Linked DNA regions of Homo sapiens: regions 1, 2, 3, 4, 6 and 7 are each linked to region 5. Evidence: promoter capture Hi-C in 16 types of primary human blood cells and fetal thymus (Javierre and others, 2016). All regions are on one chromosome and are shown on one strand. Each heading gives the region's core, a stretch centred on a gene start or on the middle of the fragment in contact. The rest is flanking DNA. Distances are from core to core; before and after follow the strand shown. Region 1 overlaps LOC124905248 (a long non-coding RNA gene). Region 2 has its middle 100 kb from the start of EGFL6. Region 3 has its middle 14 kb from the start of LINC01203. Region 4 has its middle 2.7 kb from the start of GS1-600G8.3. Region 5 holds the start of TMSB4X (thymosin beta 4 X-linked). Region 6 overlaps LOC124905248 (a long non-coding RNA gene). Region 7 has its middle 110 kb from the start of LINC01203.

Region 1 (4,115 bases), core at 33-2,532, 430 kb after region 5:
GCTGCAGAAGTATTTTTTCATACCCTAGTGGCGCCCAGAACCCCAGAGAGACAGAACCGTTCACTCTCCTGGAAAGTGGGCTGAAGCCAGGGAGCCAAGTGGTCTAGCGCAGCAGGTCCCACTCCCATGGAAGCCAGCAAGCTAAGAACCACCGGCTTGAAATTCTTGCTGCCAGCACAGCAGTCTGAAGTTGGCCTGGGACAATTGAGCTTGGTAGGGGGAGGGGCGTCCTCCATTACTGAGGCTTTAGTAGGAGGTTTTCCCCTGACAGTGCTAAGGAGGCTGTGAGGTCTGGGATGGGCGCAGCAAAGTGGCTGTGGCCAGACTGCTTCTCTAGATTCCTCCTCACTGAGCAGGGCATCTCTGAAGGGAAAGTAACAGCCCCAGTCAGGGGCTTACAGACAAAACCCCCATCTCCCTCGGACAGAGCACCTGGGGGAAGGGGCGGCTGTGGGTGCAGCTTCAGCAGATTTAATCGTTCCTGCCTGCTGGCTCTGAAGAGAGCAGCTGATCCTGACAAGAGGCATTCTGCCAGCACAGTGCACCAGCTCTGCTAAGGGACAGACTTCCTCCTTAAGTGGGCCCCTGGCCCCCGGGCCTCCTGACTGGGAGAAACCTCCCAACAGGAGTCAACAGACATCTACAGGAGAGCTCCGGCTGGCATCAGGCCAGTGCCGCTCTGGGAGGGAGCTTCCAGAGGAAGGAGCAGGCAGCAATCTTTGCTGTTCTGCAGCCTCCACTGGTGATACCCAGGCGAACAAGGTCTGGAGTGGACCTCCAGCAAACTGCAGCAGACCTGCAGAAGAGGGGCCTGTTAGGAGAAAAACTAACAAACAGAAAGCAACAACATCAATATAAAGGACCCCCCACACAAAAACCCCATCCAAAGTTCATCAGCCTCAAAGATCAAAGGTAGATAAATCTACAAAGATGAGGAAAAACAAGTGCAAAAATGCTGAAAATTCCAAACACCAGAAGGCCTCTTCTCCTGCAAATGATCGCAACTCCTCTCTAGCAAGGGCACAAAACTGGACAGAGAATGAGACCGAAGAATTGACAGAAGTAGGCTTCAGAAGCTGGGTAATAACAAACTCCTCTGAGCTAAAGGAGCATGTTCTAACCCAATGCAAGGAAGCTATGAACCTTCAAAAAAGGCTACAGGAACTGCTAACTAGAATAACCAATTTAGACAGGAACATAAATGACCTGATAGAGCTAAAAAACACAGCACGAGAACTTCATGAAGCATACACAAGTATCAATAGCTGAATCAATCAAGCCAAAGAAAGGATATCAGAGACTGAAGATCAACTTACTGAAATAAGGTGTGAAGACGAGATTAGAGAAAAAATAAAGAAAAGGAATGAACAAAGCCTCCAAGAAACCCTGCAAGCCAGAAGAGAGTGGGGGCCAATATTCAACATTCTTAAAGAAAAGAATTTTCAACCCAGAATTTCATATCCAGCCAAACTAAACTTCATAGGTGAAGGAGAAATAAAATCCTTTCCAGACAAGCAAATGCTGGGGGATTTTGTCACCACCAGGCCTGCCTTACAAGAGCTCCTGAAGAAAGCACTAAATATGGAAAGGAAAAACTGGTACCAGCCACTGCAAAAACACACCAAAATATAAAGACCAATGACACTATGAAGAAACTACAACAACTAATATGTAAAATAACCAGCTGGCATCATGATGACAGGATCAAATTCACACATAACAATATTAACCTTAAATGCAAATGTGCTAAATGTCCCAATTAAAAGACACAGATGGCAAACTGGATAGAGTCAAGACCCACTGGTGTGCTGTATTCAGGAGACCCATCTAACATGCAAAGACACACATAGGCTCAAAATAAAGGGATGGAGAAATATTTACCAAGCAAATGGAAGGCAAAAAAAGAGCAGGGGTTGCAATCCTAGTCTCTGATAAAACAGACTTTAAACCAAGAAAGGTCAAAAGACACAAAGAAGGCCATTACATAATGGTAAAGGGATCAATGCAACAAGAAGAGCTAAGTATCCTAAATATATATGCACCCAACACAGGAGCACCCAGATTCATAAAGCAACTTTGTAGAGACCTACAAAAAGACTTAGACTTCCACACAATAATAGTAGGAGATTTTAACACCCCACTATCAATATTAGATAGATCAACAAGGCAGAAAATTAACAAGGATATACAGGACTTGAACTCAGCTCTGGACCAAGCGGACCTAATAGACATCTACAGAATTCTCCACCCCAAATCAATAGAATATACATTCTTCTCAGTGCCACATAGCACGTATTCTAAAATTGGCCATATAATTGGAAGTAATACACTCCTCAGCAAATGCAAAAGAATGGAAATCATTACAAACAGTCTCTCAGACCACAGTATAATCAAATTAGAACTCAGGATTAAGAAACTCGCTCAAAACCACAGAACTACATGGAAACTGAACAACCTGTTCCTGAATGACTACTGGGTAAATAATGAAATTCAGGCAGAAATAAACAAGTTCTTTGAAACCAATGAGAACAAAGAGACAACGTACCAGAATCTCTGGAACACATCTAAAGCAGTGTTAAGAGGGAAATTTATAGCACTAAATGCCCACAAGAGAAAGCTAGAAAGATCTAAAATAGACACCCTAACATCACAATTAAAAGAACTAGAGAAGCAACTGCAAACAAATTCAAAAGGTAGCAGAAGACAAGAAATAACTAAGATCAGAGCAGAACTGAAGGAGGTAGAGACACAAAAAACTGTTCAAAAAAATCAATGAATCGAGGAGCTGGTTTTTTGGAAAGATTAACAAAATAGATGGACCACTAGCTAGACCAGTAAAGAAGAAAAGAGAAGAATCAAATAGACACAATAAAAAATGATAAAGGGAATATCACCACTGATACCACAGAAATACAAACCACCATCAGAGAATACTACAAACACCTCTACGCAAGTAAACTAGAAAATCTAGAAGAAATGGACAAATTCCTGGACACACACACCCTCCCAAGACTAAACCAGGAAGAAGTCGAATCCCTGAATAGACCAATAACAAGTTCTGAGATTGAGGCAGTAATTAATAGCCTACCAACCAAAAAAAGCCCAGGACCAGAAGGATTCATGGCCGAATTCTACCAGAGGTACAAAGAGGAGCTGGTACCATTCCTTCTGAAACTATTCCAAGCAATAGAAAAAGAGGGACTTCTCCCTAACTCATTTTATGAGGTCAGCATCATCCTGATACAAAACCTGGAAGAGACACAACAAAAAAAGAAAATTTCAGGCCAGTATCCCTGATGAACATTGATGTGAAAATCCTCAATAAAATACTGGCAAACCGAATCCAGCAGCACATCAAAGAGCTTATCTACCATGATCAAGTCGGCTTCATCCCAGGGATGCAAGGCTGGTTCAACATACGCAAATCAATAAATGCAATCCATCACATAAACAGAACCAATGACAAAAACCACGATTATCTCAATAGATGCAGAAAAGGCCTTCAATAAAATTCAACATCCCTTTATACTAAAAACTCTCAATAAACTAGGTATTGATGGAACATATCTCAAAATAATAAGAGCTATTTATGACAAACCCATAGCCAATATCATACTGAATGGGCAAAAGCTGGAAGCATTTTCTTTGAAAACCAGCGCAAGACGAGGATGCCCTCTCTCACCACTCCTATTCAACATAGTATTGGAAGTTCTGGCCAGGGCAATCAGGCAAGAGAAAGAAATAAAAGTGTTCAAATTGGAAGAAAGGAAGTCAAATTATCTCTGTTTGCAGACGACATGATTGTATATTTAGAAAACCCCATCGTCTCAGCCCCAAAACTCCTTCAGCTGATACAAGGAACTTAAATTTATAGGAAAAAAACAAACAACCCCATCAAAAAGTGGGTGAAGGATATGAACAGGCACTTCTCAAAAGAAGACATTTATGTGGCCAATAAACATATGAAAAAAAGCTCATCATCACTGATTACTAGAGAAATGTAAATCAAAACCACAATTAGATACCATCTTATGCCAGTTAAAATGACCATTATTAAAAAGTCAGGAAACAACAGATGCTGGAGAGGCTGTGGAGAAATAGGAACGCTTTTACAC
Region 2 (3,856 bases), core at 1,161-3,660, 490 kb after region 5:
ATGTCACTGAATTTTGGGATGATTTGTTATGTGGCATTATTGTAGCAATCAGTAACTGATGCACATGGGCCAGTTTTTGTTGCTGTTGTTTGTATTTTGTGGCATGCTTAGGCCCCCAGGCAGAAGCCAGGCTATGAGAGAGGCTTTCCAGAGAGGGTATTTTCCATATCCTGTCTGAGGAATGTAAACCTGGCTGACTGAGATCCCAGTTGAAGGGAGGGGCTTGGGTACTACCCAACAGTGTGCAGACTTCTAGATAATCTTCCTGTTTCCAGCACAGTACCATTACCCTTGACTGAATTTAGTTTCCTTCCAGAGTCTAGTCCCACTGATTCAGCATTTCCAGGGTACAAAACTCCTACCCTCTGCTGGGGGTTCTAACTGCTTCTTATACAGATGTTTAACAAATCTGCTTGCTTTAAGCAGCACTTGCCTTCCATTTTCAGAGGTGTCTAGTTCCATGAATTCCTGAGCATTTGCTGGGGGTTCTTGTTCTGACTTGAGCTGGTTTTCAGCCTTCCCTACTGCCAGGTTGGAGTTCTCTGGGCAGATGAGGCAAGACCTTAAGGCAGAGCAAACCGTCAGGCTTCCTACCATTTGCACAAGGTCAGGGAGAGGCTAGGCTGGGCTGGGTGGGTTCTTGAGATCATAAGTAAGGATGACCCACAGGGAGAAAGAGGCTTGATTAAAGCAATGTGAGGGAAAATAGCTATGGAAGAGATAGTGATATGGTTTGGCTCTGTGTTCCCACCCAAATCTCATCTCGAATTGTAATCCCCATGTGTCATGGGAGAGACCTGGTGGGAGGTGATTGGATCATGAGGACAGTTTCCCCCATGCTGTTCTCGCTCACCAGAGTTGATGGTTTTAAAAGTGTTTGGCAGTTCCCCCTTTGCTCTCTTCTCTGTTTTGCCTGCTACCATGTAAGACATGCCTTGCTTTCCCTTCACCTTCCACTTTTTTTTTTTTTTTTTTTTTTTGAGATGGAGTCTCACTCTGTTGCCCAGACTGGAGCGCAGTGGTGCGATCTCGGCTCACTGAAGCCTCCACCTCCCAAGTTCAAGCAATTCTCCTGCCTCAGCTTCCTGAGTAGCTGGGATTACAGGCACACACCACCATGCCTGGCTAATTTGCTAATTTTTTAGTAGAGACAGGCTGGCTTTCACCATGTTGGCCAGGCTGGTCTTAAACTCCTGACCTCAAGTGATCTGCCCACCTCAGCTTCCCAAAGTGCTGGGATTACAGGCGTAAGCCACCGCACCCGGCCTCAGGTAGTATCTTTATAACAGTGTGAAAATGGACTAATACAGACAGTCTTTAAATTTAGCTTCAGCAGAACTTTCAGGGACTAGCAGAAAAAATGCTAATTTGAACCTGATGAACAAAGACCTGCATTGATGAAACCTCACAACCATTTATATCTCACATCTTCCCAATTCTATCACAAAGACCTAAAGTTCCTTTATGCCCTAAAACTATCAAAATGTATTTTGGGGCCTGAGTTTTTCCAAAAGTTGAGTTTCCATATCACTGGTTATGGTTAGATTCCATGTGGGAACTGGTACCTGCTTAGCATTTTAATTAATTAGTATTCTTGTTTGTGGTTTTCTTTTTCTTCAAAAATATTTCCTGAGTACTGTGCTGAAAAATGAACAAAAAAGAAAAAATTCATGCTCACTGCAAAGTATAAATTCCCCAGCTCTCTTCCTCTCATAATTCTTCCTCCAGAGTTCTTTTTTCACTGGCTCTGATTCCTCAAATAATCATTTGAAAGTAAACGGTATATGAAGAGGAAAATATGTCCCACACGAAGGTGATCATACTACCTCTCACAAATATCTATTGAGAGATACACAAATTGTTTGGGATTAATTACACATTGTTGTTATAGTCAGTGCACTCTTGATGTCTTATAGGCTTTTGTGGGGTCATCCAGGAGACCCATGCTACAAGGTCTGACAGGATTTTTCCCCTAGCTGCTCTGCATATCCACAGTCCTCTGACCTCATTGCAGTTCTCATTTGCAATGTTTTCTTAAATAGGTAGAAATGTTTCCTGCTCATTTTGCTTTTATACATTTGGCAAATACTATCTTGGCTTCCTCAGTGATCTTGTGTCTGGGTCTTCCCTCATCTTGGAACCAGAGCTGGCATTTTAATTATCCTGTAAATTCTGACCCCATTTCAAAGTGTAAGCTACCACATGATTTATTTAGTTCTTTTTCTTTTTTTAAAGGTAAGTGAGGGGTAGTTTGATAAATAATTTTTTAAGCTTAGGGGTTATTAGAATGTTTATGCTATATTTACTCCCTGCCTTGATACATAAAGTATTCTAAATGGCTCCATAGATCTGCTAAGATGAAATAGGTATAAAACTTAAAATTTGGGCCTTGCAAAAATACACATGGACAAAACCAAGGGAAAAATAGAAAAAAAAATTTATGCAGGCTCCACTCCAAAGATGAACCCAAAATTTGGCACTGAGCTTTCTTATGGCCCACTCAAAAAGGGAAAATATAGTCAAGTGCTTGATTCATGTTGTCTAAGAAATAAAGCTTGCCAGTAATTCTGAGGAAATAAAGTTTTTCCTAGCACATAGAATCTAGAAGAACGTTTCCATGCAGGTCTTCACATGGGCCACATCTTCATCACTTTTAGAATAAATGTGATTGCTGCTGTGCTAGGGGTGTTTATTAAAAGATCCCTGTGTCTGAAGCTAACAAGGGTAAATATCAATGCACTTCCCAGCAAAAGTAATTTTTCATGCAGGCCTCCGACAATGTGATCTAAATGTTTAGCTCTCCAGTGGTCTGCCAGGAATCAAATGTAGAGTGTCCAGATATGAATAGTCAGCTCATCCTTAAAATAAACTTCCATTAATATCATTTCTCTCAACAGAGTTCATCTTTTCATCATAATGTGTTAAACCAGGAAATATCAGTAGACAGTTCTGCAAAGGCTAAATGAAAAGGAAATTAGCTTAATTTGCAGTGTAAGACTTTCAGGTTTGTTACAAAGAATGTTGGGAGAGTGAGAACTGGCTTTTACAGTGGATTCCTATGAGAACAGATTTTTTTTTTCTTCCACACAACACTAGTGGAAGATTTCTTTTATTTTTTTTTTTTCTTTTGTTTTCGTGACAGAGTCTCACTCTGTCACCCAGGCTAGAGTGCAGTGGCACAGTCTTGGCTCACTGCAACCTCTGCCTCCTGGGTTCCAGTGGTTTTCCTGCCTCAGCCTCCCAAGTAGCTGGGATCACAGGCATGCGCTACCATGTCTGGCTAATTTTTCTATTTTAGTAGAGATGAAGTTTCTCCATGTTGGCAAGGCTGGTCTCAAACTCCTAACCTCAAGTGTGATCCACCCACCTAGGCCTCCCAAAGTTTTGGGGTTATAGGCATGAGCCACCATGCCCATCTCATAAGATTTTCAAAAAATAAGGTTTTTTTTTTTATCATTAAATCTTAAAGGATGGAAAAACCTGCATAAGGCCCTTCCTAATCCTACAACATAGTGATTGTGACAATTCATTTCCATTGTGTGAAAACATATGACATTTAATGATGATCGTCAACTCCTATGCGGGGTAGGGTGAAAGGCGCGAAAGGAAACATATTAGAAAAAGTGGCTCCTGGCCAACCCAGAGGTGATTTCATTTGGGGCTGGCTCAAGTTTCATAAGCCTAGAATCAAACTTGCAACCATCTGTTTGAGGTTCTGTGGGAACCAAGAATTCCAGAGCCCAGGGAAATGGGAGAGCATCCTAGGAATAGACCCTTCACTGAATCTTGTTTCCACTTCATGATAGAAAGCTCCCTAGAGCTGCCTTTCCCCTTGATTTTAGGGCTGGAGGAGGAG
Region 3 (4,065 bases), core at 1,515-4,014, 370 kb after region 5:
CTCTGCCCCACTGCCATGGGGTTAGCTGTGCGTTGTGTTTTAGCCATGGAATATAGGTTTAAAGAACTGTGGGCCAGTTCTTGAGTCTTGGCTTTGAGAGGCATCATGTGTTTGCACTCGTCTCTTTCACAAAGCCATGTCAGAAGGTAATAGGCATAGAATCAGAGTAGCCTAGCTGACCCTCTGCCTGAAGCAAAGCACCATGCCTCTCACCTAGCCAACCTGCAGACTCAGGAGAAAGAAAGGTTTGTAATGGTAAGCTACTGAGATAGGTAGGGATTTTGTATACAGCATTACTTTGGCAAGAGTTGACTGATACATACCATGTTGCCTTTACAGAAGGAGCCAGGAGCCATTGATTCTGCCTGGGGGAAAGGGCAAAAGATTCATGAAAGAAGTAACATTTGAGCAGATTATTATTTTTTATTTTTTTTGAGACAAGGTCTTGCCCTGTTGCCCAGGCTGGAGTGTGGTGGTGTGATCACAGCTCACTGCAGCCTGGACCTCCCGGGCTCAATTGATCCTCCCACATCAGCTGGCCAAGTAGCTGGGACTACAAGCATGGGGCACCATGCCTGGATAGTTTTTGTATTTTTTTGCAGAGACGGGGTTTCACCATGTCGCCTAGGCTGGTCTTGAACTCCTGAGCTCAAACAGTCCTCCCGCCTTGACCTCCCAAATTGCTGGCATTACAGGCATTATAAACATGAGCCACTGTGCCCAGCCAGATTGTTCTTAAAAATATAATTGCATTTTTGAAAAAAAAAGTTGAATCTCCTTTCATTGTCAAAAATTTGGAAACTATGGGAAGTAGTAAAAATAAAGTCAAAGAGATTACATATGTTGATTATATATATATATTAGACTGCTCCATGCATTCTAGGCCTTTATGTGCTCTGGGGTTTTGCCTTTTTCGCCTGACCTATTATCAGCAACAATTTGTGTTCTTACATATGATACAATATTCTTTGAAGGCATGGTTTGTAATGGCTGCAGATTGTTCATAGCAACAATAATTGTTTTAAGGACAAGGTGAAGCACACCAGAAGGAATTCTTTCATTCACTTATTTTAAAGTACTACTTATTGAGTACTTACTACATGTCAGGCACTGTTTGAGGCACTAGGAAAACAACTGTAACAAAATAGATAAAGCCCCAATATCTATCAACAGGTAATTGAATAAGCAAGTTGTAGTATATCCATACAATGGAATACTACTCAGCAATAAAAAAGAACTAATTACTGATACATACTACAATGTGGATGAAACTCAAAAACATTATGCTAAGTGAAAGGAGTGACACCAAAAACTACATGTTGTATGATTGCATTTATATAAAAATCCAGATAATTCAAAGAAGTCTTACAGTGACAGAAAGCAGATCAGTGATTGCCAAGGAGGAGGGCACGGAGAGAGAGAAAAGAAGTATAAGGGGCATGAGAAACCTTTTGTGAGTGATAGATGTGTTCATGAATGTGTACATATGTCAAAACTTTAAATATGTGCAGTTTACTGCATGTCAATGATACCTCCGTAGAGCTGTTTAAAAAGTGATGGGAGTACAGTGAGGGCTGAAGAAGTGGTGGACAAGCATTCTGAGCAGAAGGAAAAGCACATGCAAAGAAATAGAGGCATTTTGTTTAATAAGCCTGTAGGACTTACCATCTGCGAGGCAGTGTTTCAAGAGCTGTATAAATATTAACTCATTTTATCCTAACAACATCCCTCTGAGATAAGTACTATTAATGCCATCCTTATTTTGCAGATAAATTGAGGCACAGAATTACTAAGTAACTTGCCCAAAGGAACAGTAATTGTCAAAGCTGGGCTTTGAATCCAAGAGCCTAGGTCTAGAGTTCATAGTCTTAATTACTACAACATGCTGCCTCTACATGTCTGGGAACATATTTGGTAATATCTGTGTGTATATTTGAAAAGTCACATGACTATAGCCAAAAGTGGAGAGGGAAGAGAGGGAGGGGAAGACCTTGGAAATGTAGGTTGAGGTAAGCTCATTTAAGTATGCGAAGTCCAGGCCATATAATGAGAAGATATATTGGAACCCTCCTGAGTGATATCTTTATTTTGAATGGAAAAATCCATTCATTATCAAAGGCTAGTTATATCCTCAATGGAACACATCTGAAAGCAAAATTTCCACCACCCTTATAAAGGACTTAGTCCTGAATGCACAAATTGATCAGATAGTGTATTATGCTCCCAAAGTAGCTTAAGAATTAGGTGACATTATTCGCAAAAAGATACACGTTCCGTTTCAAAGCATGCATTCACATGCTTCCTTTTTTTTTTTTTTTTTTTTTTTAAGACGGAGTCTCACTCTGTCGCCCAGGCTGAGTACAGTGGCGTGATCTCGGCTCACTGCAACCTCCGCCTCCTGGGTTCAAGCGATTCTCCTGCCTCAGCCTCTCGAGTAGCTGGGACTACAGGCGCATGCCACCACGCCTGGCTAATTTTTTGTATTTTTAGTAGAGACGGGGTTTCTCCGTGTTAGCCAGGATGGTCTCCATCTCCTGACCCTGTGATCCGCCCGCCTCGGCCTCCCAAAGTGCTGGGATTATAGGCATGAGCCACCTTGCCTGGCCAGGCTTCCTTTTAAATCCGCTTCAGGAGACGCAGATGGAAGGAGAAAGGCCGAAGCACAAAGGCTCCCTATCAACACTTACAGAACTGCTGTTGCTTTTCTCTCTGGCTTTAAGAGAGATCACCTACAAAATCGTATTTGTGAAAGCTGAATCTGGCTGCCAAAGAATCCAGGGCTTGAAGCTAAATCTCTAAGGTCATGAATTGTCTTCTTATGCACTCCATGCCAGTCAGAACTCACCGATGTGCAGAGAGAGCTCACATCTTACCATTTCACAAACTTCATCAATAGCACATCTATCTCCCCAGGGCTCTGCACATTGCCAGAGAATCCCATCACCCTGAATTATTTCCCTTCTCTCTCCTTCCTCCTTCCTCCTTCATCCTAGACCCTCTAACTGCTCAGTAGACTCCAGTAGACTCTTAACCAAGCCCCACCCCCAGAGAACTGGTTTCCAAAGATGGCTTGGAGACAGTATGCCCAATTCCACAGTAGATTACAGTTTTTTGTTTCATTTTGTGTTTATCGGCAAAATGACATATAGGTCACTTCAACTTGTGGAAAATTCCTGATCCACTACAAGTATATTCAAATAAATCTTTCAGAAGTAGGAAATCTTATTACAAGCTACCCTCATGCACAGTGAACAGGGAAAGGAAGTGGGCTAGAACAAGAAGTCTGCTGCAAGGGAGAAATCCAGACTGCTAATTCTACCACATCACCAACTTTCTGTGGACTCACACCAAGGGAATTCTTCTTCCGAGAGCTCAATTTCCGCATGTGTAGAATAAGCTGAGGAGGGTGGGCGAGGGTCTTGGGACCTCCCCTAATCTTCATTGCATGGCCCTGGTGCATTTACTATGGGAAATGAGAATTCAGGCTCTGTCTCTGCCCCACCTATGGTAGATATATGGTCCCTCAAGTCTCCCTTCACCTGAGTAGTCCCATTCATCCAGGCACATCTAGAAGACAAAAATACTATTACTGCTGCACCAACAGCCTGCAGTGATTGGTTTTACTTTTTCAAGCCAGAGCCCAGCTGGCTGTGAAACACCAAAGAGAGGAGGGCTCTGTGTTTATAGCTCAACTATGAAGATGAGTTCACGTCAAGCATATTTGTCAGCTCATCTTATTCTGACACAGGCCCAAAGAACCGGGCTTGTGGGAAGTGCAAGGAGAAGAGTCGGGACTCTGATAAAAAAGATGGGTCTTTTTGAAATATTTGTCCAAGGCTGGTTCTTTGCATATATAAAACACTATATTATTTAAGTCGTCTTCACATTAATGATCTCACTAGAGGCTCAGAGGATAACATAATTCCATTTAACAAATGTGGAAATTAAAACAGAGTTATGAATGCTATACCAAGTTCACACTATTTAGTGAAAGAGGTGGAGCTAAAACCCTAGGGACCTGATCCCAAGCCCAGTCTTATTGCAGCAAATTGGCCCAAACTGTGA
Region 4 (3,992 bases), core at 381-2,880, 330 kb after region 5:
ACTTTTCTCCTAGAATTGCATTCTATGAATATAATATTTTGTTGAGTAGTTAGTCAAATTAAATGCAGTTTTCAAAAGGGGAATCTTTTAGGGAGATATGGCCTTATGGTTTGAACCAGATTTCATTTCCACTGTATCAAATCCCAGTGGCCTTCTCAGTGGCAGAATGGGTTTTTCACAAATTCTCTGTATTGTAGTTGTTAATTCTTAAGTAAAGTAACTCTGGAATGTGCTTTCTTTGGCTTATAAGTAGACCTCCTCTCCACCTTATGAGTTTCCAACTCTTTGCCCTTGAATTAGACACATGTTGGTAGATTGTAGCCTAAGGCCTACTACTTACTAGTACTTGATAAAATCTTCTCCCTAGGATGAATGGGCAGTGGACTAAAGACAAGAATTACAACTTTTTAATCAAAGTGGCTGAATCCATAACTATATCTTTCTAAATTAAGCCTGTTTTGTTATGAACTGTCTCTAGATTACCATTAGCAATGTTGTTGGTCGGATGATTTGGAGAAAATGAAAGAACATCATGATTTTTATTTTCCTTCTTTCTATAATCCAATGATTCTCAACTAGGGGCAGTTTTACTCCTGCAGGGACATTTGGCAATGTCTGGAGACGTTTCTAATTGTCACACCTAGAGAAGTGATTGCTATTGGTGTCTTGTGGGTAGAGGCCAGGGATGCTGCTAAACATCCTACAACACACAGGACAGTTCCCATAACAAATAATTATCCACAAAAAGTTATCTGGCCCAAATTGTCAGTAGGGCGGAGGTAAAGAAGCCCTGCTAGAATCTGAGAAATTAGCCACCATGGCTTCTTTGTCTATACTAGGATCCTAAAGATCTCATTATTTTTATCTCTTTATTAATTTCTGTATTACAAAGATAATATTTTTCTCTGGACTATTTTCTCATTTGACCAAGGAAGTTAGTCTTGGAATCCTGCCCCACGAAGCTTACAGGTCAGTAATTCACAGTATAATCTCCTTATTGGAGTGGAGGCCTATGGGTGCTGGAGTCCTAAGAGTTAAACACCTTTGCACAATTATAGTGGTTTAGTGTGCAGCTTATACAAACAAAAATATTATCTGTACCTTTAATTTGTAGTTTCCTTGTGTTATAGTAATAATACAGAGCAAATCTTGTGTTATAGTAATAATACAAAGAAACTACAAATTAAAGGTACAGATAAAATTTCGAAAATAGCCTTAGTGGAAGAATGAGAACCAAGCTCTTTTGACCTGTTGAGCTTCACATATGGTTTACAGATGCTCTCCAATTTCATCCTCATAACAGCCTCACCAGACAATCTTGTTCTTGTCAGACAAAGAGTCAAGAAGAGAACAGAATGATACTTTGAAGATAATTTTATCCTGTTCCTGTTAATTAGTCAAATATGTGCCTTGTATAAATTTACAACTTACACAGCGTCTACAGAGAAATATAAAAATCACTCATTATTATACTCTCAGAGATAACTGTTTAGTGTATTTCTTTGCTACTTATTTTTTTTTTGCATGTAAATGCATTTTAAGTGTAATTGCATTTATTCTGTGTACATCACCTTTATCTTTTCCCCTCCCCTCAGTATCATTTCATGGGCATTTTAGGAGGTCAGTTGATATTTTCTTTCTTTTTCAGATTTGATAAGCTAATTTTTTTTATTTCAATAGATTTTTGGGGAACAGGTGGTGGTTGGGTTACATGAGTAAGTTCTTTAGTGGTGATTTCTGAGATTTTGGTGTACCCATTACCCAAGCAGCATACACTTGAGTTGATATTTGATATTTTCTAAAGTATGATATTTAATGATTTTAAATACTTCATCATATGACTACTTCATATGTTTAATCATTCCCCTTGATAAGTGGCAACATTTTTCTGTATGAAAGAAACAAACCAAAAAACAAACAAACAAACAAAACAGAGAAGAAAAGTGCCTGAAGCACACTGGTATATTGAAACAGCAAAATTCAACAACAAAAACAAAAAATACCACCAGCTATATGAAAAACAAACCACAAATCTTTGACTTCTCATCATACCTAACAATACTGGGCTTTGTAAATATCCGTTAAATTATATACAAATCCGTGTACGCAGATAATGATATTTTTCACTGTGCCCAGAAAATTTGATTGTTGTAGTGTCTGCTTCTAAAAACGGGTAAGATATAATAGTGTTTCATATTTAAGATAAATAGTATAGCTTAGTAGTGGAAGCCTGTTTCGGGGGGTGGTTGATTTTTTTTTTTAGGTTCAAAAATAGTAATTTTAGTATCCCAGGAGTTCCAAGCTTATATAAAATAAAATAATTGTTATTAATATCTATACTGGTATATATAGGATATATGTTATATAATACAGTTCATCCTTGAACAACATGAGTGTTAGGAATACCGGCCCCCACACAGCCGAAAATGTGTGTAACTTTTGACTCCCTCCAAATTTACCTACTAAAAGCCTACTGGTGACCGGAAGCCTAACTGGTAACATAAACAGTTGGTTAACGCATATTTTGCATGTTATATGTATTATACACTGTAGTCTTACAATAAAGTAAGCTAGAGAAAAGAAAATCATAAGGAAGAAAGAATATATTTACCATTAAGTGGAAGTGGCTCATGATAAAGGTCTTCATCCTCACTGTCTTTGTGTTAAGTAGACAAAGGAGGAGGAGGAAGAGGATAGGTTGATCTCGCTGCCTTGGGGTGGCAGAGGCAGAAGGAAATCTGCATAAAAGTGGACCTGCACAGCAACCCTTGTTCTTCAAGGGTCCACTGCATATATCATATATAAAAATAACAGTTACATAGTATTGCAATTATATCCAGACATAATAGGCAAGACATGAGACATAAAATATAGAATTAATTTTGGAAGTCATCTAAATCATGCTCTGAGGGAAGGTACAAGGCTACTAAAGGCAAAGAGCCTTGCTAAGTCAGGGTGTGGCATAACTGAAAGCCCAAATGCCAGACTTTGTCCTCTGCTTAGCCTAAACCAGAGGTCAGATGTCTCTTGTCGCCAGATGTTGATAAACACAGAGAGGTAAGCTCTTCAGTTACCCTATCACCACCTTACTAATACATATGACTGCAAAACGTTGCCTTCATGTAAGTCAGAATATGAAGGAAAAGCCCCTAATGAATATGATTTCATGAACTTTGGACATAAAAACTCACTTGGTAGTACATTATAATTTTAAATCACATTTAATTCCCTGCCAGCCAGGAAATAATTCCATGGGAAGTCAATCAATGAAAGTTAACAAAATCATTACTAGAAAAAAAGGTAATATTTTTCATTTTCAAAAAGTAAAGGGTTGGGTTGAATGAGAAGTAGATATAGGAGACAGAGCAGCATTCTCAGGTGTTGTTCATGCCCCTGCCATTGTTTTAATTATGGCCTCAATATTCTTTCTCATGGCTGATGGTTGACTTTGGTGAGTAGAAGTAGGTAGTAGCTAAGAATAATCATGAAAAAATAGAACATTTTCTTTAAAAAGGAAAAATTGCCTAATGATATATCAGTTTTGTATCTACAATCACCATAGAACATTTAGGTTATTTGTACTCTATTATCAGGAAAGATTGGGGAAAAGTGGAGTGGCAAAGAGAAATAAAGAAGTATTAATTGGAAACCACCTCAAACATGAGAAAAATAGCCTTTATTTATTTCATTCTGCATCTGCTAGTCTCTGGGCAATCTAAAAAAACAGTCTTCAGAATTATAGCCACATGGTGATTTTTTTCCTCTCCAGAATTACAAGAAAATTGGCTCCCACACTGTGGAACTAAAAAGAGGGGCTATAGGGTGCTGCTTCTCTCTCTTGACATTTTACTTGGTTTTCAAAGGAATTCGTGACTAAGAATCTCATGGAATCTAAATGCGGTCACTGATGGAAATTTAGGTTTCCACAAAGAGTGCAGGAAGAAATTTACATGGCAAAAAAAAAGAAAAGATTTGCTCTGGCAAATGGGTGA
Region 5 (3,945 bases), core at 1,094-3,593:
ATTTTGTAAGTGAAAATAATAATATATATTCATATGTATTAATTATATAGAAATAATATATAATAATATATAAATGTCTCTATAGGAGAAATAATATCAAGACACCTAAAATTTTTAATTAATTCTAAACACTAAGACAATTATTTTATTATTTTTCCTCAACCTTCCATCCTAAATCATACGAATAATAACAATAGAAAGAGCTTACTAATTGTCATGCACTGTCCGAAGCATTTACTCCTCCCAACAACCCTGTGAGGTCGGTGTTGCAATGAACCCATTTTACAGATGAGAAAACTCCAGCACAGAAAGATTCATTCACATGGCCAGAGTCATGCAACTTTTAAGAATATTCCTTTGGTTTGCATTTCCTTGTATCTGCACCACCCTTCCCTTTCCTGTCTCTCTAGGTCTCCTGACCGGTTGGCAGGTCAGTCCCAATCATGGGAACTCTTTTCCTTTAAGCAGTCGTCTCTCTTTCTCTTCCTCTCTGTTTCCACCTGCCCTCCATCAGTGTCTCAGCACAGTGGAAGGCTGCTTGCTACCGCACTGGAAAACTTCTCCAGACATTTCCAAGTTTGCATTCGTCCATCTCCTTTGGAGAATTGCTTCAGTGAGGCCTAACCCTTTCTGAGGAAAGGCCCTTGGGAGAAGAAGCCAGGAGAAGGTAGTGGCACTCCTTTGTCATCAGGAGACATTGGGAGGAAAGAAATGATTTTCGACAGCAGCTGGGTGAGGGGAAACAGAATCACAGAACCTGCGGAAACGGTGTCGGTACAACGGCAGCTGCCAGCTAAACGGGCGAAAAGGCACCCTGCAAGATCTTTTCTGTGTTTCAACGATGAAGTAGACTCCCAACATGGAACAGGGGCGGGGGGGCTGTTACCAGACAGGTGACATTTGGTGCATGCACGAACAGGTCCAGTGCCCCATTCGGAGGCCAGGAAGGCAGCCACCCAGCAGAGCATTAACTAGGGGACCAGACGGTCACCTGCCCCTGCTCACCCCCACCTCCTTCCTCCCCAGGAAAAAGGAAGTCAAGTAGATGGAGAAACGGGGAAGTCCAAGCTGCTGGCAGTGGCATTCAAGGGTCTATATATAAGGTTGACTCTAATCCCCAGCGAGACAAAAGCCTGTGCCATAAAAATGATTAGCAAGGGGTTTCTAAAAACATTTCCCCAGGCCACGGAAAAGGAGAAGGAATATTTTGCACACTGCCTTGTCTCTTAGAAATAATCACAGCTAGGCCTCTTTATAACCGGCGAGTCTTTTTCCTTTCACACGCCATTTGCAGGCGCGTGGCATGGTATTTGTAACTAATTTTCAGTAGCAAGTGGGTCACTGGTATTCACAGAGTCAGGTGCCATTTTGAAAACTGCTTCCCTCTACCCGAATCTCTTATATTTCCAGATGCAGATGCACTTCAGCGATGTCCTAGTGCTGGAAACGCTCCCTTGAAAATATAATTTGATTTTTGAATTTCATCTTAAGACATTAGAGATAATGTAACTGTAGTCTTTGGAATTCAACGCTGGCCTCCTTAGCCATCACTTTTAAAATTTATGAAAATAAGGAAGAGGAAGGTAAAGAACTTCCTCATTGTCCGGCAGTAAAGTCAATGGCAGAGCTTGAGCTTGACTTATTTTGCTAAGAGGGAGGTGTTTTACCCTATAAACTCCAAATTACCTTACACCCAGCAAATACTACTGTTGAGTGCTCACAAAAATTATGCTGATGAAACAATATGGATGTTTCAGTGATGAAACTTTCTCTTTTAAAATCACTTAAGGGTGCTTTACGTCCCACCCAAGGCAAGAGGAACGCCAGCGAGGAAGACAAAGAGGCCCGGGGTGGGGCGCATGCCCGCCACTGGACTGAAAGCTGAGTCACAGGAATCGTACCCCTGCAGCGGGCCAGGCCCTCCAGGGAGGGACACCGCGCCCTTGTGTGGAGATGTCCACAGTAGACAAAGGCAGTTTCGAAATAAAAGAATGCCTGTCACCCCAGGTGCCACCCCGACCCTTAGTTATTATGCACTGGTCCCCAAGAGCAATTTCTGCGCTGCTGTTGCAAAAATTCATCGTAATGAAATAAACGTAAAAGGGGAAAATGTGTTATGAAGTGTTGGAGGGTGCTTTGCTCATTTTTTTCGCCATCGTTGTGGTTAGGGTGCATGCACTAGTGGACCCCGGGTGGGGGTGGGGCTCCCCTCCCCAAAAGCCCGGCAGGCCTCCGGATGCCGTTCCGAGACGCGGCGCGAAGGAGTTAAGCGGGCCGGCGGGTGACATCACCTCATTTACATAGGAGCGCCCATAAAGCTGCGCCCGCCGCACCCCGCCCGACAACTCGGTGGTGGCCACTGCGCAGACCAGACTTCGCTCGTACTCGTGCGCCTCGCTTCGGTGAGCCCCAGGGCCCCTGCCTCCTTCCTCCTGCCGTCCTGCCTCCGTCCCCGCCCTTTCATCATCCGCGTCCCTGTGAAGGCATTCCCTAAATCCGAGCCCGAGTGGTTCTCCCCGGGAAGGCTACTTTGGGGAGCTGGGGGGATGCGAAACACCCTAGATACTGGATAATGGGGTGGGGAAATCGATGATTTAAGAACAAAACCGAAAAACTGGCGTTTTGCCGTGCCGCTCGGAGGGGACATTAAAAAATTTCTTAGTGTTTGCCCGCAAAGGTATTGTGCGTTGCCTTGGAGGCTGAGATATGGGGGAATAGACAAGTCCTTTGTTCTGAGGTTCATCTTCCGAGCCCCGAGCCTCCTCCCAGCCTCGGACGGCTGCGCGGGCTGCATCTGTGCAGCCTGGCGGCGGCGGGGCTGTGCTATGACATCTTTACAGTCCTTCTTGCAGAGACATGTGTGCCAGGGATGCCGAATTGCCGGGAGAGCAGGCAAGACCGGCTTCGGGGCGCGCGGCGGCCGCTTTGTGTGCGGGGCTGCATTGTGACGCGGGCGATGAAGCCGGTAGGGCGGTGGTCGGAAGCTCCAGCCGCGGCCGCCGCCTTTGTGAGAGGACTAGAAAGCCGGATCCGGCCCGCATCCTTGCGGAGAGGCCGCGGCTAGGAAATGGAAACGCTTTTCCTACCTGGGCTCCATTTTAGGAATTCTTGCCGATTTTTCCCACTTGAATTTGGAAGTGGCTTTCCTCTTCTTTCCTTGTCCTAGCCAGCCTTTAATTTTAAACGCTGTAATTAACAATTCGCAGTGGTCAATTTCCTTTATTCTGCAAGATTCGGCTTTGAGAGGCATCCGCCCTCTTTGGTCCACAGCGTTTTGAAATATGGGGAGGAGGGGCGCGGGGGGTGTCGCCTCTTTTTCTGTAGAAAGAGGAAGCTCGTGAGCGCGGAACGGCAGCAGTAGGAGAGCGAGAAGGGTTTTTTTCAGGCTGCGGGTCGGAGGGCAGAAGTGCAGTTCCCAGCCCAGAGACAGCGGGGCGGGTGGCTCTTCCTCACGCTCGCTCTTGGCTTGCTCCCTGCAGCTTTTCCTCCGCAACCATGTCTGACAAACCCGATATGGCTGAGATCGAGAAATTCGATAAGTCGAAACTGAAGAAGACAGAGACGCAAGAGAAAAATCCACTGCCTTCCAAAGAAAGTGAGCTCCGACCCACCCCCATCTTTAGAAAGGCTGGGTGGGAGCGGCCGGTGGGAGGGCGGGAGGCTGGGAGCGGCCGCGGGAAGAATTCGGGAGGGGGGAGTGCGGGGGAAGAGCCGACAGTTGATGAATGTGGCTTGCAAAGGTTAATTAAAAATGGTTTTGCAGCCAACAAACACGGGGCTTTAGTAATTTAGTAATGGAATATTTAATATGCCATATTAATATACAAACATTTATCCATTAAAATGTATTTCTATTTAGTATATTCAATATACATATTTTATTCCATTGTGGAATACCGTGTAGAATGTTTATGATTTGAAAAGATGCTTTAAATGAAAGCCCTT
Region 6 (3,691 bases), core at 802-3,301, 410 kb after region 5:
AGCATAAAGCTACAAACATCCCTTTTCATTCACCAGCTCCCAGAGTCTTTGAAAACCTAGAAATTGGCCACTTTTGCCCTTCAAGACCTTCTGCTACTTTGTTCAAAGGAAGCAGAAGATCAAAGGAAAGTAGCCATGTGGAGGCTCATTGTTCAGGCCTAGGCTGGCTGAGTTTCCAAGGCCTCCAGGGAATTAGGGATTGAGGACCATGTCAACTTGATTAGACCTTCAACTAGCCTTTCAGGAAATAATTCTCTCATTTGGGAGCAAAGAGAGTACCTTTCTCCCCATACTCAGTACATTATATCTGTTCCCTTCTTAATGCCTTTCTTTTTTCCTCTCTTCCATGACGCAGAAGTAACTGGATATTTATGAAGACAGCCTCCAAGACCTTTCATATTCCCCCACATTTGTGTGTATCCCTGACACATAATACTTCAATTCCCTCAGCCTTAAAATCAGGCAAGTGTGCCTACATCACAGGATTGTTGCAGGATTAAATGCAATGCTTTATTAAGTGAGTTGGAGACTCTGGGTTTATTCATTTCCTAAGGGACTTTCTGACACTAAAACACACACTAGCCAAATAGTGCTTCTCTTCCAAAATGGCAAATTACTTCAAGCAAAAGCCCTTCAGACTCAGCAGGGAAGAAGTAAAGAGTCAAATGTTACATCCACCAATACCAGGAGAATCCAGGGAAGTCTCTTTAGTTTCTTTTTCTTGTATTCCTTATATTGCTGTTAGATTATGGATGAAGGAAAAAAACTCCCAGATCCTAAAGCATGCTGACTGGACCCAAATAAATGACATTATGAGAGCCTGTATTAGTTATCTATTGCCTTCCAACAAATTACCCAAAAATATTGTGGCTCAAAATAATAAACATTTATTATCTCAGTTTCTGGGGGTCAGGAATTCAGGAGCAGCTTAGCTGGGTGGTTCTGGCACAGAGTCTCTCATGAGGTCGTAGTCAAGATGTTGGCTGGAGTGACAGTCATCTGAAGCCTTGACTGGGGTTGGTGGATCGTCTTCCAAGACGGGTTACTCACATGGTTGTTGGCAAGAGGTCTCAGTTCCTCCCCAAGTGGACCTTTTCATAGGGCTGCTTGAGTGTCTTCATGGCATGGCAGCTATGATATAAGAGAGACAGCAAAGAGGAAGTTGCCATGCTGACACCATCTAGTCTCAGAAGCCACACACCACCACTGCTGCCATATTCTATTAGTTAGAAGTGAGTCACTAAGTCTAGCCCATGCTCAAGTGGAAGAGAATGAGTCTCCACCCTTGAAAGGGAAAAGTTTCAAATGTGTTGACCTATTTTAAAGCTACCACAGGGCAGCTGTCTGGGTGGCTCCTTCATCAGTTTTCTTGCAACACTTCATATCAGCTCTCTGTACCTGCCAAACTTCAATGATTATAAATGTATGAGTCTAGTCATGTATAAAAAGCTCTGAAAAATTAGGTAGAAGAAACTTCAAATAGTTTAATAAGCTTTGCATTGCATTTTCATTCCCCTTTGGTTGGATTTTCATTGGAATGTGGATTTCTATAAACTACATATTAAAACTCCCTTTATGGGTCATTGCTAATCTAAAACTTATGGTGATTTAGACAGGGATTGGATTATAAAATAACTTTGTCCATAAGCACAAATAAAAAAGTGTAAATGAGATCTGAGGAACAGTGTTTACATACTTTAATGAGGTCATTGCTTTCAGGCACTTTATGGGCAAACTTTCCATTTAATTAAATCACAGAGGCCAGATTTAAGCTGACACTTTAAAATGTTCATTAAAAAAATTATCCTTTTTGTACCCTGGACCCAAGGGAAAGATCATGAAGTATGTGCTATATGCACAACTATGTCCTGAGAACAATGAATCAGCTGTTTTTTAAGGCTATTTTTCTTTGTTTGCATTTTCCCCTAAATTCTATTGTAAAAAATTTTAAGCATGCAGAAAAATTGAAAGAATAACACAATAAACACTTGGTTATCCTCCACCTAGATTTGATCATTTTGACATTTTGCCAAATTTGCTAATTCTCTCTCTCTGCACACACACACACACACACACACACACACACACACACACACACAGAGAGAGACATAGATGCACAAAGCCTATAAAAGCATCGCCTTTTTGGAGGTGCTGACCCATTTGAAAGTAAGTTGCAAATAATACCATCACTCTTCACCCGTAAATATATCTCCCAAGGAAAGGGGACATTCTCCTATATAACCTTAATACCGTTGTCATATTTAAGAAGATTAATAATAATCCCATTACATGGCCTTCGCATGCAAATTTTCCAGCTGACAAGTCAAAAAGACGCAGAAGCCAGCTTAAGGGTGTTCCTACTGATGAAATTAGGAAAAATTTGAGCATCAGAATGAATGACAATAAAGGAGTATAGCCCATTAAATGAAAGAAGGATCTGTGTGTCCATATTTATATAAATAAATGGTGGGGAGGCAAGGGGAAAAAACATTGTCCTTGTAGTAGAAAACCACCTATTAAATAGAAGGAACAATGGGATAAGAAAAATTACGGTCATAATAAAAATCGATTTAGGCAAGAATCATCAATGGATACTAAAATTAGTGGGTGGAAGCTTGAGGAGTATATTGTATTAGTTTCCTACTACTGCTGTGACAACTTACCACAAATTTTGTGGCTAAAACAATGCAGATTTATTATCTCACAATTCTGTAGGTTAGAAGTCCAATGCAAGTCTCCCAAGGCTAACGCCACCATGTTAGCAGGGCTGCATTCCTTTCTGAAGCTCTAGGGAAGAAGCCCTTTCCTTGCCATTTCCAACATCTAGAGGTATATATATAGCGTATTTTTATTTTCTCTATTTTTAATGCTTTGACATCTTGGGGGCTTGGTGACCCTGGAGCTCTTCCAAGGGCTAGCTAATCCCTAGAGATAGTAGAGGATTTGACTGCAAGTGTGCCTTTCTAATGCAAACCAACTAATCCAAAGCCCACACCCACAACTGCCTCCTCTATTGAGCTCTGACACCCTGGGCCACCACTACCCTGCCTTAATCACCCAGGCTAGGTGCCAGACACTAGAGACAGCCCTTACACCTCAGAGTCCACTGAAATTATTCAAACTAGCTGATCTAAACCTGCTTACCCTGCCTCACCCATTTCTTCCAATGGAAACCACAATAAAGGCTCTTGCCCACATTTTCACCTTGCACTCTCTGCCTCCTGACCAACTGATAATAGTTTGGATGTGTGTCCCTGCCCAAGTCTCATATTGAAATGTAATACTCAGTGTTGGAGTTGGGGCCTGGTGGGAGGTGATTGGATCATGGGGGCAGTTTTCTCATTAATGGCTTGGCACCATCCCCCTTGGTATTGTCCTCATGATAGTGAGTTCTTGTTAGGTGTGGGTGTTTAAAAGTGTGTAGCACCTCCTCCCTCACTCTCTTGCTCCTGCTCTGGCCATGTGACATGCCTGCTCCCCCTTTCCATCATGATTGTAAGTTTCCTGAGGCCTCCCCAGAAGCTCAGCAGATACAGCATCATGCTTCCTATAACAGCCTGCAAAACCATGAACTAATTAAACCTCTTTTCTTTACAAATTACCCGGCCTGAGGTATTTCTTTTTTTCTTCTTCTTCTTTTTTCTTTTTTTTTTTTTTGAGATGGAGTTTTGCTCTTTCACCCAGGCTGGAG
Region 7 (3,712 bases), core at 691-3,190, 470 kb after region 5:
CTACTGACTATCCACTTTGAGGACCAGCTCTTCAGCCCTATCGATTCATGTAATTCTAGCCTTAAGCCCTTCCAGTTTCTTTCTCTTCCCCTGGGCCTGTGATACTTCTCTCTGAACATCGTATTCAGCCAAACCTTCTGAAATATGGTCATGGGACTCATGAAAATGCAACTCAGAGAGGTATAACCAATTGGAATTTTCATTCCCCAAGAAACAAGGTAGGAAATTTGAATCCCCAGAATAAACAAAAAGGAACTTACTAGAGCAATTTTATTTGAACCATTGGTGAAAAATTAAAGGTATTTAAGTGATAAGCAATCAAAAACATAAGTTATTGGTAAAATGCAAATGTTGCACATATTTTCAAAATAAAAGCAATTTATTGCTGTGAGAAACCATTTCTGGTAGTCTCTAGCCTTCCAGACATATACCTCATGCCCCTCAGCTGTTAGATCTGCTTGGAATCTGTATTAGTTTTCTATTGCTATATAACAAATGACCACAAACTGGGCAATTTACAACAACGTACATTTGTTATCTTGTAGTTTCTGTGGGTAAGGAGTCCAGGCATGGCTTAGCTGGATCCTCTACAAGAATGCAATCAAGGTGTCAGCTGGGCCTGGGTTCTCATCTGAAGGTTCAACTGGAGATGGATCTGTTTCCAAGCTCACATCATTGTCAGCAGCATTCAGTTCCTGGTGGATTGCTGGACTGAGGGCCTCAGTTTCTTGCAGACTCTCAGCTCCTCACTGTGTGGTCCTCTCCACATGACAGCATACAAAATGGCAGCTTGCTTCTTCAAAGCCAGCAAGGGAGAGAGAGTCTTCTAGCAAAACACATTAAAATCTTGCTTATGTAACATAATCACATATGTGAAATCACATACATCTGTCACGCTTGCTGTATTCTATTGCTTAGAAACAAGACATGTCCTGCCAATGCTCAAGGGGAGGGGAATGTACAAGGGTGTGAATCCCAGGAGGTAGAAATCATGAGGGCCACCCTAGAATCTGTCTGCCATAGGTAGTAAAGTTTGAGAAGCAAAGTCTTAAGCCATTACTGGCCATTAACATCTCAGCTGTAATAACTTACCAATCAAGAAACAGCAGAACTAAAGACCATTCCCTGGTATGGATCAGGAGACAATCTATTCACAGGGGAAGTTAACACTATGCCAGCTCAAATAATAATTGTGTGTGTCTGAATTCTCTTTTTTTTTTTTTTCTCTGAGACAGGGTCTTGCTTCATCACCCAGGCTGGAGTGCAGTAGTAAGACCATATAGCTCACTGCAGCCTCAAACTCCTGGGTTCAAGTGATCCTCTCACCTTGGCCTCCCAAAACACTGGGATTGTGGGCCTAAATTCTTTTTATTTCAAAAATAAAAGCACTGGAAAATAAAGCCCTTGGAAATACAAAAATGAGGGAAGGACAGAAGCTATAGGAGGTGTCCAGAATTGGTTGGAAAAATGAATAAGAAAACAGTAGGGAAAAACAGACTCATCTCCTCTCTAAAAGTATAAGCATCCTGCCCCCATCTCTGACCTTACTGATTACAAGACCCAATTCATTTTCCTTGCTAGATTGTATCTCACTTCTAAGATCTGATGGTATCGCTCATCCATGAGGTAGTTTAGCATGGTAATTACTTACATGGACTCTGCTACCCACTGCTTGGCTCTGATCCCTGTACTACCCCTTCTCAGGTAAATTATTCATACTCTCTGTGAATGCTTCCTGGCTGTAAAATAGGATCTTAGTAATGTCTACTTTGAAGAGTTGATGGAATGAAATGAGTTGCAACATGGACAGTGCTTAGAATAGTATCTAGACACAGTAAGTGCTTCGTACATTGTAGCCACTACTATTCTTATTTATTTATTTATTTATTTATTTATTTATTTATTTATTTTTGAAATGGAGTCTCATTCTGTCACCTAGGCTGAAGTACAGTGGCACAATCTTGGCTCACTGCAACCTCCACCTCCCGGGTTCAAGCAATTCTTCTGCCTCAGCCTCCCGAGTAGCTGGGATTACAGGCATGTGCCACCACGCCTGGCTAATTTTAGTATTTTTAGTAGAGACAGCATTTCTCCACATTAGCCAGGCTGGTCTTGAACCCCTGACCTCAGGTGATCTGCCCACCTCAGCCTCCCAATGTGCTAGGATTACAGGGGTGAGCCACCGTGCCCAGCCTACTATTATTCTTTGAACAGGTATTGATTGGGGGCCTGTTAAGTGTATATTTAGACCATCTCTTTCACCAACCAAATTAGTCTAGAGCCACTCACAGATTTCATCATGTGTTCGTATATTTGACAATGCCATTGTGATAGCCTTAGCAATGCAGTGCATGGCTTCTCTTGTTAAAAACAAAGGGATCTGGCTGGGCGCAGTGGCTCACGCCTGTAATCCCAGCACTTTGGGATGCTGAGGTAGGTGGATCACCTGAGGTAAGGAGTTCGAGACGAGCCTGGCCAACATGGCAAAACCTTGTCTCTGCTAAAAATACAAAAATTAGCCGGGCATGGTGGTGGGTACCTGTAATCCCAGCTACTCGGGAGGCTGAGGCAGGAGAATCACTTAAACCTGGGAGGCAGAGGTTGCAGTGAGCCGAGATCGCGCCACTGCACTTTAGCCTGGGCGACACAGTGAGACTCGGCCTCAAAAAATAAAAATAAAAATAAGGGGATCGAATGCATTACAAAGTTCTATATTGATCAACAATTACTGTAATTAATTGAAACAGAATTTAATAGCAGTGGTTCAGCCAATTTATTTTCTCCTTCTTCAAAAATAAGGAGGAAGACTCTCAGTCCCTCATCTTTCATTAGGAGTGTAGTCAGCCTCTAGAAAGCCTGGCCTGTAATGTAAAATCACCCACATCCACAGTGGTAGTCACCTTTTCTGCATTCCGACCATGAAATTCAGCCTCATGTTTATCCTTCATTTTCTGTCTCCTTTAGAATTTTTTTTATTTTTAAAGCTAGAGTCATGATAATGGTTCCAGTACTTATTTATTTATTTAGAGACAGGGTCTCACTCTTTCACCTAGGCTGGAGTGCAGTGGCACGATCAAGGTTCACTGCATCCTTGACCTCCCGGGCTCAAGTGATTCTCCTGCCTCAGCCTCCAGAGTAGCTGGGAACACAGGCACACACCACCATGCCTGGCTAATTTTTTTTTAGTTTTTGATACAGATGGGATCTCACTATTTTGCCCAGGCTGGTCTTGAACTCCTGAGTTCAAGCAGTCCTCCCACCTTGGCCTCCCAAAGTGCTGGGATTACAAGCGTGAGCCACTGAGCCCAGCCCAGTGCCAGTATTTAAAAGCATTTAGTCATAGTAACCTCTAGGGCCCAAAGAAAGCTATGAGATCTCATGCTTGTTACTCAGTTTGGGGATATATATAACTCCTGACATAGCACCCCCCTGCTCAATCTGGTAGCTCTCAAATTCTATTCACAGCTATATTTTTGTCTTTGCTTTACAAAATCCCTCACCTATTGCACTTCTGCAAAGATTGGTTTAAAGCAGTGTTTTTCAAACTTTAATACACACACCATCCTCTGTGGATCTCAGTGGAATCAGATTCTGATTTAATAGGTCTGAGGTGGGGCCCAAGGGTTGCATTTCTGACAAGCTCTCAAGTAATGCCCATGCTGCAGATCAAGGGACCACACTTTGAGTAGAAAGGATTTAAAGGACAGATGCC

What was found. The method cuts DNA at HindIII sites, captures the fragments that hold promoters and counts their contacts. A CHiCAGO score of 5 or more calls a contact.
Region 1: a contact is called between a fragment that was not itself captured here and the fragment with the promoter of TMSB4X in region 5, in 5 of 17 cell types (naive B cells, total CD8 T cells, activated CD4 T cells and 2 more). The highest score is 9.5, in naive B cells.
Region 2: a contact is called between a fragment that was not itself captured here and the fragment with the promoter of TMSB4X in region 5, in 16 of 17 cell types (naive B cells, activated CD4 T cells, total B cells and 13 more). The highest score is 16.5, in naive B cells.
Region 3: a contact is called between a fragment that was not itself captured here and the fragment with the promoter of TMSB4X in region 5, in 4 of 17 cell types (total B cells, activated CD4 T cells, naive B cells and 1 more). The highest score is 6.7, in total B cells.
Region 4: a contact is called between a fragment that was not itself captured here and the fragment with the promoter of TMSB4X in region 5, in 4 of 17 cell types (M1 macrophages, monocytes, total B cells and 1 more). The highest score is 8.3, in M1 macrophages.
Region 6: a fragment that was not itself captured here is called in contact with the fragment with the promoter of TMSB4X in region 5 in 6 of 17 cell types (M1 macrophages, activated CD4 T cells, endothelial precursors and 3 more); the score reaches 9.6 in M1 macrophages.
Region 7: a contact is called between a fragment that was not itself captured here and the fragment with the promoter of TMSB4X in region 5, in 4 of 17 cell types (total B cells, naive B cells, naive CD8 T cells and 1 more). The highest score is 9.7, in total B cells.

What each region holds. Positions count from the first base shown.
Region 1 is chrX:13,404,365-13,408,479 of GRCh38, forward strand. The region is part of intron 1 of LOC124905248 (a long non-coding RNA gene); the gene reads right to left. Among named protein-coding and RNA genes, the nearest start is that of LINC01203, 71 kb to the left of the region's middle. The HindIII fragment of the contact is 8,917 bases long and covers 1-4,115 here.
Region 2 is chrX:13,464,605-13,468,460 of GRCh38, forward strand. No RefSeq gene overlaps it. Among named protein-coding and RNA genes, the nearest start is that of EGFL6, 100 kb to the right of the region's middle. The HindIII fragment of the contact is 283 bases long and covers 2,270-2,552 here.
Region 3 is chrX:13,347,068-13,351,132 of GRCh38, forward strand. No RefSeq gene overlaps it. Among named protein-coding and RNA genes, the nearest start is that of LINC01203, 14 kb to the left of the region's middle. The HindIII fragment of the contact is 8,192 bases long and covers 1-4,065 here.
Region 4 is chrX:13,305,958-13,309,949 of GRCh38, forward strand. No RefSeq gene overlaps it. Among named protein-coding and RNA genes, the nearest start is that of GS1-600G8.3, 2.7 kb to the right of the region's middle. The HindIII fragment of the contact is 1,340 bases long and covers 961-2,300 here.
Region 5 is chrX:12,972,767-12,976,711 of GRCh38, forward strand. It overlaps TMSB4X (thymosin beta 4 X-linked), which reads left to right and starts at 2,344. Exons shown (of 3, transcript NM_021109.4): 1 at 2,344-2,402; 2 at 3,480-3,595. The coding sequence starts at 3,496. RefSeq lists enhancers at 781-850, 861-1,120, 1,141-1,260, 1,384-2,223, 3,063-3,901. The HindIII fragment of the contact is 8,223 bases long and covers 1-3,945 here.
Region 6 is chrX:13,386,687-13,390,377 of GRCh38, forward strand. LOC124905248 (a long non-coding RNA gene) reads right to left here. Exons shown (of 2, transcript XR_007068395.1): 2 at 865-1,131. Among named protein-coding and RNA genes, the nearest start is that of LINC01203, 53 kb to the left of the region's middle. RefSeq lists a silencer at 1,251-1,350. The HindIII fragment of the contact is 1,122 bases long and covers 1,491-2,612 here.
Region 7 is chrX:13,444,647-13,448,358 of GRCh38, forward strand. No RefSeq gene overlaps it. Among named protein-coding and RNA genes, the nearest start is that of LINC01203, 110 kb to the left of the region's middle. The HindIII fragment of the contact is 5,808 bases long and covers 1-3,712 here.